4 separate regions of the Homo sapiens genome follow, and all the other regions are linked to region 1. Evidence: promoter capture Hi-C in human tissues and cell types (Jung and others, 2019). All regions are on one chromosome and are shown on one strand. The core of a region is centred on a gene start or on the middle of the fragment in contact, and the rest is flanking DNA. Distances in the headings are between cores, read along the strand shown.

The links. The method cuts DNA at HindIII sites, captures the fragments that hold promoters and counts their contacts. A contact is called where the count stands out against the background at its distance.
Region 2: a contact is called between a fragment that was not itself captured here and the fragment with the promoter of CALY in region 1, in 1 of the 25 tissues and cell types used here (mesendoderm cells).
Region 3: a fragment that was not itself captured here is called in contact with the fragment with the promoter of CALY in region 1 in 1 of the 25 tissues and cell types used here (dorsolateral prefrontal cortex).
Region 4: a contact is called between a fragment that was not itself captured here and the fragment with the promoter of CALY in region 1, in 2 of the 25 tissues and cell types used here (lymphoblastoid cells and mesendoderm cells).

Annotation. Positions count from the first base shown.
Region 1 is chr10:133,335,399-133,338,648 of GRCh38, forward strand. It overlaps CALY (calcyon neuron specific vesicular protein), which reads right to left and starts at 1,498. Exons shown (of 6, transcript NM_015722.4): 1 at 1,436-1,498. The region is part of intron 5 of ZNF511-PRAP1 (ZNF511-PRAP1 readthrough); the gene reads left to right. RefSeq lists an enhancer at 1-428. The HindIII fragment of the contact is 49,503 bases long and covers 1-3,250 here.
Region 2 is chr10:132,846,680-132,849,929 of GRCh38, forward strand. It overlaps CFAP46 (cilia and flagella associated protein 46), which reads right to left. Exons shown (of 58, transcript NM_001200049.3): 42 at 508-642; 43 at 253-432. It also overlaps LOC105378571. Among named protein-coding and RNA genes, the nearest start is that of NKX6-2, 62 kb to the left of the region's middle. The HindIII fragment of the contact is 4,039 bases long and covers 1-3,250 here.
Region 3 is chr10:132,950,277-132,953,526 of GRCh38, forward strand. All of the region lies in intron 1 of LINC01166 (long intergenic non-protein coding RNA 1166), which reads right to left. Among named protein-coding and RNA genes, the nearest start is that of CFAP46, 9.3 kb to the left of the region's middle. The HindIII fragment of the contact is 6,557 bases long and covers 1-3,250 here.
Region 4 is chr10:133,617,791-133,621,040 of GRCh38, forward strand. No RefSeq gene overlaps it. Among named protein-coding and RNA genes, the nearest start is that of FRG2B, 7.4 kb to the right of the region's middle. The HindIII fragment of the contact is 3,524 bases long and covers 1-3,250 here.

The sequences.
Region 1 (3,250 bases), core at 248-2,747:
GCTGCGCTTGAGGGGTCCCCTTCGAGCCAAACTTCAAATCCAACTCCTCGGACGGCCAATTTACGTCATCGCGGGTTTCCATGGCAACGCAGACAGGCCCGAGACGCGTCTTCAGGAAGAAAAAGCCATTGGGGGCCCACTGGAGCCTCGCTTCTGGTTCCGGGCCCAGCGCCCCGGGCGGAATGCGGGGTTGGAAAGGGGGGACTAGCCTGTGTGTGGGGTCCAACCCCCCCACCCCACACACCAGACCTTCCCTTTGCATTGCTGCGTCATGGGGGCCTCCTCCCACGGATGACACGCGGCTCGTGGAACTGGGGGGCCGCCTCTGCTTCTCCTCCCGGCCCCTCCCTGCACCTGCGCTGTCGCGGCATCTTCTGCGGGTCCCCTGCGCCCCACCCGCCGCGCTCTGGCAGGGAGGCAGTGCCCGGCTCCTGTCTCTGGGGCGGGGAAGGCGTGGGATGCTGATGGCAGATGGGTGGGGGCGCGGGTGAGTGAGGCCGTGCAGATGGACAGATGGATGGCGGGGGCGGGGGTGCAGGCTCTCAGTCGAAAGTCCACGGAAGCTCGGCTGGAGGTCACGTCACAGACTCGCTTCCGCATGCGCCCCCCCCAACCATGGAATGCTGCGTCACGCTGGGGGGTGCGCGCAGGTGGGCTTGTGCGGGCCGGGCACCAGCGCGTGTGACTGCGGATCTGAGGGTCCCGCCCAGCCCCCGCGGGCGCCACCGCAGCCTCCCGCCCCTGGCGCTGCAGGGGGCTGTGGCTGCCCCGCTTATTAAAAGGCAGCTGCACTGCGGGGTCGGCGCAGCCCCTCGGAGGGGAGTGGGCGCGCAGCTGCTCCCGCTTCCAGCCCAGCCACCTGTGGCCCCGCACCCGAGCCTGCTGCAGGTGGTTCCGGAGCCGCGCCCCTCCCGGCCTCCTGGCCACCTCTTGCCTGTCACGCAGACGCCCCCATCAAGCCCACCGCCCACCCCCAACCCCCGTGCGGGCAGCGGCTCCTCGGTGCTCTGGTCCGACGCCCCTTCTGTCGCCCTCCCCACCCCGCCTCCGGCGGACAGAGCTGGGCGGGAGCTGGGACTGGTACCCCCTCCCCACCTCGGAGACACCCTTAACTCCAGGCTGCGATCCTCGTGCCGGGGCCCCGCCGTCACGGGAAGCCTGGAGACCACCGCCCTCGGGTCCGCGGGGTCGGACTGGCCTGGGGCAGCCAGAGGAGGCCCGAGGGAGGAGGGCGGCCGTGCAGCGCGCCCTGCACACTCGCACCCGCACACGCGCCTCGCACACACGCACTCACACCCTCATCCGCACGCGCGCCACGCACAAGCGCACTCGCGAGCACACGCACCTCGCACACACACCCGCACACGCGCCTCGCACCCCCGCACCCCTTCGGGCCCCCCGCCCACATTCTGCAAGAAATGTGGAAATAGCTCACAGGCGGCTCCACTGGCAGCTGCTGCAGGACGCGGTCGGGGAGGACGACGATGCGGATGTGGATGCGGAGGATGCGGTTCCAGACGCTTCGCGGCCGGGCGGGGCGGGGGCTGCAGCTGCGAGACCGAGGCTGTGGTCGCCATGGAAACGCGGCTAGAGGCGGGGCCTCGACTCTGGTCCCGCACCCTCTACCCCCACCCACCGCCCCGGCTAGGGAGCCGCGCATGCGCCCCTCAGACCCTGCTCGGGCCTCACCACACACCTCATACACACACCTGATGCACACACACCTGACACATCCCCAGAAACCACACCTCGAACACCAGACACATCCAAACACACACCTCACACACATCCCAGACACACACCTCACACAAACACCCCCCACACACACACCTCACAAACACCCCAAACACCTGACACACACACACCCCAGAATCACACATCTCGAACACCAGACACATCCAAACACACCCCAGACACACACACCCCAGACACACACCCAACACACACCCGACACACACACCACACACACCTCACACACACCCCAGACACACACACACCTGACACACCCGACACACCCCCAGAATCACACACCTCAAACACCACATTCAAACACACACCTCACACACACCCGACACACACCTGACACACACGTGACACACACACCTGACACACCCCCAGAAACATACACCTGACACACACCTCACACACACCCAACAACACATATACCTGATACACACCCCAGGCACACATTTGACACACACACCCCACACACCTGACACACATACCCCAGAAACACCTCAAACAACAGATACATCCAAACACACACCTCACACACACCTGACACACACACCCTAGTAATACACACATCAAATACCAGACATCCAAACACACATCTCACACACACCTCAGACACACACACAGCTGACACACACCTGACAGCCCCCAGAAACACACATTTCAAACACCAGACACATCCAGACACACACCTCACACACACCCCAGACACACACACACCTGAGACACACCCCACACACCTAACCCGCACCCCACACACCTGACCCACACCCCAGAAACACACATCTGACACACACCCCAGACACACACACCTGACACTCTCCCCAGAAACACCTCAAACACCAAATACATCTAAACACACAATTCACACACACCCCAGATATACCTCACACACACACCCCAGACATACCTCACACACACACACCTGACACCCCAGAAACACACCTCACACACCAGACACACCCACACATCTCACATACACGACACGCACCTGACACCCACCCCAGAAACACACATCTCACACACCAGACACCCAAACACACCTCACACACACCCCTGACACACACCCCACACCTGACACACACACCTGACCCACACCCCAGAAACACACACCTTAAACAGCAGAAACACCCAAACACACCCCCCCACACACCTGACACACCTGATGCCCATCTGACACATACCCCAGAAACACACCAGACACACCCAAACACACTCACCTCAAACACATCCCTGACACACACACACCACACACCTGACATACACACACCTGACCCACACCCCAGACACACACCTGACACACACCCCAGAAATACACACCTCACACACCAGACACACCCAAACACACACCTCACACACGCCACACACCCCTCAGACAGACGCCTCACACACCAGCCATACACACATCACATACACCTCTCACACACACCCCCAACACACACCTCACACACACCTCACACACGCTCTTGACCCATACAGTTCACACACCAGACACACCCAAACACACACACCTCAC
Region 2 (3,250 bases), core at 219-2,718, 490 kb before region 1:
CGGGGCCCTGCTGGCCTGTGACTGCCAGGTCTCCATGTCTGCCCGATGCAGGGGATCGGGGATAAGCACACGAATGCATGTTCTCTCTGAGCCACAAGTTTACGTGGCCGGCAGGCTCCCACTGCTTAAGGACCCTGGCCTGCGGCCTGCTTCTCTAATGGAGTCCCCCCAAGGCGAGGGCCCCAGCTGAAGCCCAGGGTCCTCCCTCCTCCATGAAGGGCCTGGCTGGAGGTGGGCAGGGCAGAGACACACCTGAGACAGAGCCAGGAACTGGCAGGTAGTTGCAGGGTCCAGGGTGCCGACACACTCCACCATCTCCAGGCTGGCGGCTGCTGCGACATCCAGGAGGCCACTGCCAAGGGCCACCTGTAGGCACTGCAGCAGCACCTCTGACGCCTGAGCCAGGTACTGCTGGGCCAGAACCATCCTCCTCTGTGGGGCACAAGGCTCAGGCTCAGGCCAGGCTCCGGGCAGAGGCCACACGAGGGGCAGGAGGGGCAGCCGCACCTTCAGGTCCTCGCCTCTCCTGCAGTGCTCCTCCGGGGCTGCCCTGGAGGCCGGCGGGTCCCTGCTGGACTTTGTGGCACCCTCTTCCTCTACCTCCAGCTCCAGAGACTTGAGGCCGCTCAGCTTGGCGCCCACCTGTGACACACATTGCAGGTTGGCAGACACTTCTGGGTTCCTGCTTGGTCGGCGTGGGGAGGGCCCACCCAGGGAGGCCGGGGTGGTCGGGCTCCTCAGCAGGGTCCCCGGGTAGGGGGTACCGCAGGCCACAGCATGGCCTCTCACTATCCCAAACCCTCCATCCCTGAGTTGATGCAGGGTGGCCCTGACCCGTGAGCCTGGGCAAGGGGACGCTGGAGCCTGGGCGAGGGGATGCTGCAGCCAGGGTGAGGACGCAGACCCCTGAGGAAGCCGGCCTGAGTCACGTGGGCCTGGAATCCAACACATTCCCAGGGGGCTCTCGTTCCTGTCCTTTGGAAACACCTCTCCCGGAACCAGCCAGCACTGAGGCTGAGGCATCCACCAGCCCTCAGGGGCCCCTGATCTGGCTGAGACACAAGCCCCACCTGGGTATAGGAAGCCCTGGCAGCCCCTGAAGAACCTGGGTTGAGAGGGAGCCCCCTGGGTTTTCGGGACACAAGGTATCGCAGCACCAAATCTATATATGCACCCAATGATCAGGCGTCAAAATAAAAACACTGATAGAAATGGAGAAGGAGTGATGGACATGTCCCCGTTCTAGTAGGCTGCCTGAATGCAGGCAAAAACCAGCAAGCACGCTGGAGGCAGGGCAGCCGTGGCCACCTGACACGCACGGCTGCCTGACATGCACGGAGCCTGGCCCCTTTCTCGACGGAGCACACGCCGTTCAGACGTGTGCAGAACATTTACCAAAACCAACCAGGGCTGCACCACGTGCAGCCACTGCAGAGTCCCCAGGACCGAGACCACTCGGTGTGTTTTCAACCACCAGGACATTAAACAGGAAGTCAGTCATGAAAATAGACCCGTGAGAAACAGTCGCCTTGAAATTAAACAAGATACAATCATCAAGTCAGTCAAACAAGAAATTGCAATGGAATTTATAAAACGGACTTAGAGAATGAAAATACTGAGGGAAGAGAAAAGGAAAAGTCAGTGAGGCCGACAGCCAAGGCTGGTCTTTGGAGAAACAGCCTGAAATGTCACAGCCACAGGCAGAGAGAGAGCTGCCAGGCAAAACCAAGCTGCGGCAGCACTGGTGAGTCGGGGGGAGGGAGGGCAGCAGAGAAGCCTTCGTTCTCCAGGTCATCAGCCGGCTGCCAGGGAAAGTTTCCTCCCCTTTTCAGGCATGAACACGGTGGGCTCCGAGGGAACCTGCATGGGTTGTGGGAGGGGGTGGGGGCTTATCCAAAACACACCCACAGCTGCACAAACAAGAGAGGCTGCGCTTTGTGCTCCCTAAAGACACACCCGCAGCGGCACAGATAAGGAAGTCACAAGAACAGCGAAAGAGACCAGCGGACTTTCTTATCAAAGCGTTTGGATTCAACTGTGAAAATGGCAGCCCACTCGGGCCCCCTCTCCGCCACAGAGAGCTTTTTTCTTTCACTTATTAAACTTTCGCTGCAACTTCTCCCTGTGTCCACGCGCCTTAATTTTCTGGGTTGTGAGACGATGGACAACGAGCTCGGATAACACCTTAGACAACGTGACCAGCAACCCTAGACCGTGTCGATCCTACGTATCAAAACTTGGGAGACTAAAACGGGGGTTAGAGGAAAAATACAGCCTTGAATACAAGAAAAAACCCAGAAAAACCTTGATTTAAGCTTTGATTTCAAGAAGCTGGACAACAACATAAATCATATCTAAGGACAGCAAAAGGCAGGTACGTCCCGGCCTGGCCTGCATGGGGCGGGGGCCGCGGAAGAACCCTGCGCCCTCCACACGGGACTTGACGTCTGCTCTGCCCTGGCCCCTCCTCGCTGGAGCACCATCAGCAGCATTCATGGATGAGGACGCAGCTCACAGGAGGCCCTGCCGACCCTCGCTTCTGGTCCACACCCACCCGCTACCTGAGCAGGCCAATGGAGGCTGGTTGCATGCAGAGCCTCGATTCCATCAATTCACTCGAGGTACATCAAGTCCTGTGCTAGGTCCTGAAGACGCAGGACAGACATTTCAGGGCCGACCCAGGGCTGCACGGCACCTGGTGGGGGGATTGCCCTGGGCATGGAGCCAGGCACATATGGCGTGGTTGCTCCAGTCCCTGAGGGCATCTTCCTTAGGAGCTGGTGTGTGGGGACGAGCCCAGCTTCTCTGCTGGGGCAGGTGCCTTCCGGGGGAGGAGCTGGCATCTGCACAAGTGTTTAGGAAGGTGACCTGGGGCCTTGCGTGGCTTGTAGGGGCCATCACCAGGGTCCTGAGGGAGCAGGTCACTCCTGCAGCTGACTCAGCCCAGCTGGGCAGCCTTGCAGCCTTCTGGAGAAGGGTGGGCCCTGGGCTGAGAGTGAAGAAGGTCCCGACCGCCCTTCTCAGAGCCACCTGGGCATGGAGGCAGCAGCCTCCCTGGGCTGTAGGGGGTGGGGGATGGAGGGGAGCCAAGGCTGCCTAGGGCTGGCCCTGCTGTGCACTGGCATGGGGGCCACGGCGCCCGGTGCTCAGGCCCACCCTAGGCCGCTCCTGCAGCTTCTGAGCTCCCCAGGTCCCTGTGCGGGGCCTGGCCAGAGCCGCTGCTGCGGGACACACCAGTTGCGTTGCTCCA
Region 3 (3,250 bases), core at 454-2,953, 380 kb before region 1:
TTCTTCTGAGCCAAATATGAGTGGCCATGGACCGGGGTACAGTTTCAAGAGCTCCTGAAAATGTGCACCCAAGGTGGTTGGGTTACAGTTCCATTTTACATATTTTAGGGAGACAGAACTTACAGGCAAATCAATACATATAAGGTGTACATTGGTTCAGCCTGGAAAGGTGAGACATCTTGAAGCCAGGCAGCGCAGGGGCATTCAGGTCTTAGGTGGATTCAAAGATTTTATGATTAGCAATTGGTTGAAAAAGTTAAGCTTTGCTTACAGTTGAAGTCAGCAGAAAGAAATGCTTAAGATCGGAGGTTGTGGAAGTCAAGGTAATTTTTGTTTCATACATGAAGTAGCTTCAGAGAGAGTAGATGATAAACATCTCTTTCTGGACCTTAAAAGGTGCCATAAATCTCTTAGGTAAATCTCTCCCGGATCAGGAAAGGACCTAGTAAGGGAAGGCCACTCTCTATAGACACAATTTTCCCCTACAAGAGTGCACTTTTCCCAGCCATTTCAAAACATGTCAAAGAAACATATTTGGGAGTAAAATACTGTGCTTTTCTTTAGGGTCTGCTATCTGCTGTCATGCAATGCTATGCCAGAGTCAGGTTGGAATTTGGTATCTAATTGCCACAAAAAGTCTATTTGTCAGTCTTATGATCTCTACTTTAGTATAAATGCTGGTCAGCTGTGCCTAAGCTCCAACAGGGAGGGGGAGCCCAGCCTCCCTTCTCATCAATAATCCAGTTTTTCAGGTTTCCTGGGGTCCCCTTGGCCCAGAGGGAGTCCAGTCAACTGGGGGGGGGGGTCTTAGAATTTTATTTTGGGGTTATGAGATCATTAGATAAGTTAGGTCCAAACCTGGTTCATGTCCTACAAAAAGCGTAACCTCTAGGGTTATCTTCTCCAAAAAAATTTCCGCATTATCACCTTTCTGTAAGACGCCCTCCAGTTTCATGGGGCTGCAGTACGGCAGCCTTGGGGGCCGTAAGCGGGAAGGCAGTGAGGCCGCATTTTCCGAGGGAGGGGAGAGTGCTCTGCTGTGATACTAAAATCACTCACCACTAATTTTCCTCAATTTCAAACTTTGGAGATATTTTCTTGAACGTGGATTTTCTTCTTCATTGTTTTCTAGATATTCTGTAAAGAGAACTTTATTTTCTTTTGGCTTAATAGTTATGTTAGAGAGTTAAAAAATGTTCAGATGGTGAGGTTTTCCGCTTCACGGTATTGACTTCAACCGGCAGTGGTACTGCGCTGGGATTGGTGAACGTCGCCTGGCGGTGTGTATGCTTTGGAATTCGTGGTTTCCTCTGGGCCTCGATACGCCATCCATTTTTGTGATTGTTCCATGGGCACTTGAAAGGCCTTCGATGAATATTGGTTAGAACTGTGTTACTGACGACGCTCTTCAGGCCTCTGAAGTGTCTGTCTGGCTCTCCCTGCACACCCTTTGGCTCTGTCACTCACTCTCAGCAGATGCCAATTCCATCCCATTCGGAGCACAGGGGTTTGCTGGGGCTTCTCTGTGGCTCATATCCTTTGCTACCACCAAGTGCCCATCTGTCTCGGTCAGCACTTGTTTCCTTGAAGCCAGCCCTGGCGAGGAAGATCACAAACCTGCCTTTTCCCTGCTCCTTCACTGCTTCCTTTATTTTGGTATAATTTACATGCAGCAAAACGAACAGGTGGTAAGTGCTGCGTTTCCGTGAGTTTTGGAAGTGTGTGCACGTGGTCACCCACACCCCTCAGGACGGAAACCACCCTGTCACCCCACAGAGGCCCCTGTGCCCCTCCCAGTTGGCCCTACCCTGCCCTGGGGCACCTGTGCTCTGACTTCAGCCACCACAGACCAGAGTTGCCTGTTGTAGAACCTCCTATAACGCAGAGCACAGGGGTTTGCTGGAGCGTGTGCTCAACGTGGCAAGTGCAATTCTGCCCAAATCACGGAATTCAGACGGGACTAATGCAGCTCCTCCAGTCTCAGCGGCCATGACCCTGGAGCGTGAGGACTCCAAACCCCACTCTTCTCCACTCTTGGAGGGAAACACCTTGTGCAGCCCAGTGTGCAGACCTTTCCAGGAACACCCCTTCCCAGGGCTGGCACCCCCTGAGAAGTGAGTGGCAGCATGGTTTTGCTTCAGTCAAAGGAAAAAGTCTCTAAGTGTGGAGGTTAGACACCACTCAGAGGGGGCTGGATATTGTATTTGGAATGGAAGCTTTTGCCAATGTCCTGAAATCCCACAAATAGGGATCACTCACTCTGTTCTTTCTCCTCCCTCCCAGCTGAGGTGTGCAGAGAGAGAGGGCGGCATGCAGGAAGGGGTGCAGGTGCAGGTACTGCAGGGTGTGGCAGGGCAGGAAAAGCCTGCCCTCTGAAATGCAGGCCCTGGAAAGCCAGAAAATCCCGGAGTCCCATGGAGGAAGGATGCATCCTCTTGAGATGGCTGTGGATGCCCTGCTGGGGAAGTGAGATCCACGGACCTCTCTTCAGCTCTGGTCTCACCCGGAGCTCTCCCAGTTTATCCACAGTCACTGGGCCATCCAAAAGTCCACCCTGCCCATCTTAATTTTCCTTAAAAGCTGCATTGCCTCCTAACTTCAAATCATTAGCAAAGAGTTGTGCAAAACATTATCCAAGGATCTGAGCATCAAGCACTTTAATTCTCTCTGTCTGTGGTCAGTCTCACGTTCCCAGTCCTAATTTTGTGCATTGACATTTTCTTTGATTTGTTTTTCTTGCTTTAATTATCAGGTGGTTTAGCAGTTTCGTTGTGGTCATTTTTTTTCTTTTTTTCTTTTTAAACAGCTCTGAGAAAATAGTGAACCAGCAGGCATGGTAGGTTCCACTCCAAACCCCAGATGCCTGGGGACACTGGTCAGAGCAGGGAATGGCCGTGTGGGCAGTGGAGGAGGTGGGCTGTATGGGAGAACTCATTTCTTCTTCCCTCCCCTTGTCTCTCTGGCTGGTCACTGCTAACACTGTTGATGAAAAGAGTCAAACTCTGTAAAATAATTGAAGAGATTTATTCTGAGCCAAATACGAATGACCATGGCCCGTGACACAGCCCCAGGAGACCCTGAGGGCATGCGCCCAGGGTGGCCGGGGCACAGCCTGGTTTTATACACTCAAAGGAGATGCATCTCAGTACACTAAGATGTGTTGGTTCAGTCTGGAAAGGTGGGTCAATGAGAAGGGGGAGGGGGCTTCCAGGTCGTAGGCAGATTCAAAGATTTTCTGATTGGCAATTGG
Region 4 (3,250 bases), core at 268-2,767, 280 kb after region 1:
AATGGGGATAGGCTAGGTGTTCACAGCTGTTTTAATGGGGCCAGGTGCAGATATCCACAGCTGTCCTCATTGGATGCAGCCAAAATGGCACAGCTGTCCTCCTGAGCCCAGCCCAGGTCTTTATAGCTGTCCACACTGGGGTCAGCCCAGGTGTTCGTAGCCATATGTTTTGGGCCCAGCACAGTTAATCCGAGCTGTTCTCCTAGGGCCCAGCCCGGGTATTCATAGGCATCCTCATTTGTCCCAGAACAGGTGTTTGCAGCAGTAGGCCAGATGTTCACATCCAATCTCACTGGGCCCAGCCCAGGTATGCAAAGCTGCCTTTACTGGGAGCAGCCTATGCTTTCACAGCCGTACTCGCTGGTGCCAGCCACATTTTTCAAAGCTGTCATTTGGCTGAACCATGGTATACATAGCCATCCCCATTGCCCACAGCTCAGGTATCCATAGTCATCCTCACTGGGGCCAGCTCAGGTGTTCCCAACTATCCTTATTTGTCTCAGCACAGGTGTTCACGGCCGTTCCCATTGGCTGAGCTCAGTTGTTCATTGCTGTCATTACGTGGGCATGACCAGGTATTCACGGCTGTTCTAACTGGGTGCGAGCTCAGGAGTTAATAGTGCTCCTCATCTGGGCCAGCCCAGGCATCCACAGCCGTCCTCATGATGATGGTCAGTGTCCGTGTTCAAAGCTGTCCTGTGGCCAGCCCGGGCGCTCACTGTGGCCAGCCTGGGCGCTCACTGTGGCCAGCCTGGGCGTTCACTGTGGCCAGCCTGGGTGTTCACTGCTGCTTTTACTGGACCCGGCCCAGGTTTTCCCAGCTTCCCTCACTGGGGCCAGTGCGGGTGTTCACAGCTTTCCTCATTGGGCCCAGGCCAGGGGTTCATAGCCATCTTTGTCAGAAGCAAAGGTGTTCATACCCAGGCCAGGGGTTCATAGCCATCTTCGTCAGAAGCCAAGGTGTTCACAGCCATCCTTTCCAGGTCCAGCTGAAGTCGCCCCCGCTTGGGCCCAGCCCAGGCGTTAATAGTGGTCCTCAGTGGGATTAGCCCAGCTGTTCACACCGTCTTTGTCGGGGTGAGTTTAGATGTTGACAGCCATTCATCTTGGGCCCAGCCAGGTGTTTATAGCCATCTTCATTGTGGCAAGCCCAAACGCTCACAATGGCTTTCGTTGACCCCACACCAGGTGTTCTTGGCTGTTTTCATTGGGCCCAGCCTAGCCATTCACAGCTGTGCTAGTGGAGACCAGCCAAGGTGTTTACATCTGTTTTCGTGGCAATCAGCCCCGATGCCACAGCTGTTCTTACTGGCTTAGCCCAAGTGTTCTCAACTGTTCTCATTGGACCCAGGCCAGGTGTTCACAGCTGCACTCACTGGGCCATGCCTACGTTTTCATAGCTGCCTTCACAGGACCCAGGTTAGGTGTTCACATCTGTCCACACTGTGTCCAGCCCAGGTATTTAAAGTTTTCCTCGTGGGGCCCAGCCAAGGCGTTCACAGTCAGTAGCAAGCTCAGGTGTTAACGCTTGTCCTTCTCAGCCTAGACCAGTGTTCACAGCCATCCTCATCGGGTCAATCCAGGTGTTCTAAGCTGTTCTCTCTGGGTGCAGGCCAGGTGTTCACAACCTTCCTCATTGGGGAAAACCCAGTTGTTAAATTTTTTTTAGTGGGTGCAGCTCAGTGCTCACAGCCGTTTGCATCTGACCCGTCTCAGGTGTTCATAGCTGTCTTCATTGGGACCAGCCCCGCTGCTAACAGCTTCCCTCATCTCAGCCTCCCCAGTTGTCCATAGCCATCTTCTTTGTTTCTAGCCAAGTTCTTCACAGCTGTCCTCACTAGGCACAGCCCACTTAATCACAGCCATCCTCCTGAGGGCCAGCCAGTGTGTTCACCCCATGCTCACTGGGCCAGCCAAGATACTATAGCTACCTTTATCCAAGCCAATCCCCGTGTTTATAGCTGTCCTCTTTCGGCCCCCTCAGGTTTTCACAGCTGTCAACATTGGGTCTGGCCCAGTTGTTCACAGCCATTCTCATTTGGGTGATCTAAGGTGTTCATAACAATCAATAAGGCAGCCAGCCCAGGTGTTCTGGCTGGTTGTTCATGGGGGACCTGCCCAGGGCTTAAGAGCTGTTTTCCTTGAGCTCAACCGACCTTTTCGTAGCTGTCTTCATTGTGCACAGCCCAGGTGTTCACAGCTGTCCTCATGGGTCCTGTACAGTTATTCCCTGTGGTTCTCATGTAAGTCAGCTAAGATGTTCTGTCACTCACATTAGAGCCAGGTCCAATGTTCATAGCAGTCCTCATGGAGGTCTGCCGATTTGTTCACATCCATGCTAATTGAGGCCAGCCATTTGGACTGAAAAGCTTTCCCAAAGCTTTGCACTAATTCAAATGTCAATCTCACCCAGAGCCCCCTCTTGCATACCCAGCATAATGTTTGGCCAAATGTCTGTCCTCTGTGGGCCCGTCAGACGGACATGTGAAATTAACCTCAATGCAGGCTCTGAGGTTCCAGGCCCAGGCGGCCGGCATCCTCCAGCTTCCACTGATGTGTCCTGGGGGTTGCTGGGGACATGCTCTGCCTGGCTGCCTTGAGCTGTGACCTTGGTCTTTTCCAGGCTTTGGACTTGAACCTAAGCACAGGCTCTGTGGGTCTTGAGTGCCCAGCCTTCAGACTGGGATGAACTCCATCAGCTCTTTCGGGGTTCCAGCTGGCCAGTTGCAGATCTGGGGACTGCTTCATCTCCAGGGGATGTCATGCCCTGATGCCTTACTGAGCATCCCTAGTAGAATAAAATCAACATTCAGGGGTAGGGGGTCAACCTCAACCATCAACCACATTTACTGCCAAACCTGTAGGTTTTAAAAAATTCATTTCTTAATTTGCATAGAATAAAACACTCTTTTAGCTTATACTGTGGGTTTTGATAAATGCATAATTTGAGAACAGTTTGGCAGCTTCTTAGAGAGTTATATACACTTTCTCTATACAACCTAGCGATCGCACCCCTAGGCATTGGAACCCAAGAGAAATGAAACGTATGTTTTGGGATTCTGGCTTAACAAGACCTTTTCAAGGGGCCCTGGATTATTCAACTGGGAAAGGAATCTGTAAGAGTCATCTAGTCCAGGTGATTCAAAGGGTACCTGTGGAGTCTCTTTCGGGGCCATGAAGTGGGGCTGGGGGAAGCCCGGAGCTCTGGGGATCCTACCGTAACCCACCTGTTAACTTGTGAAAGACGCCT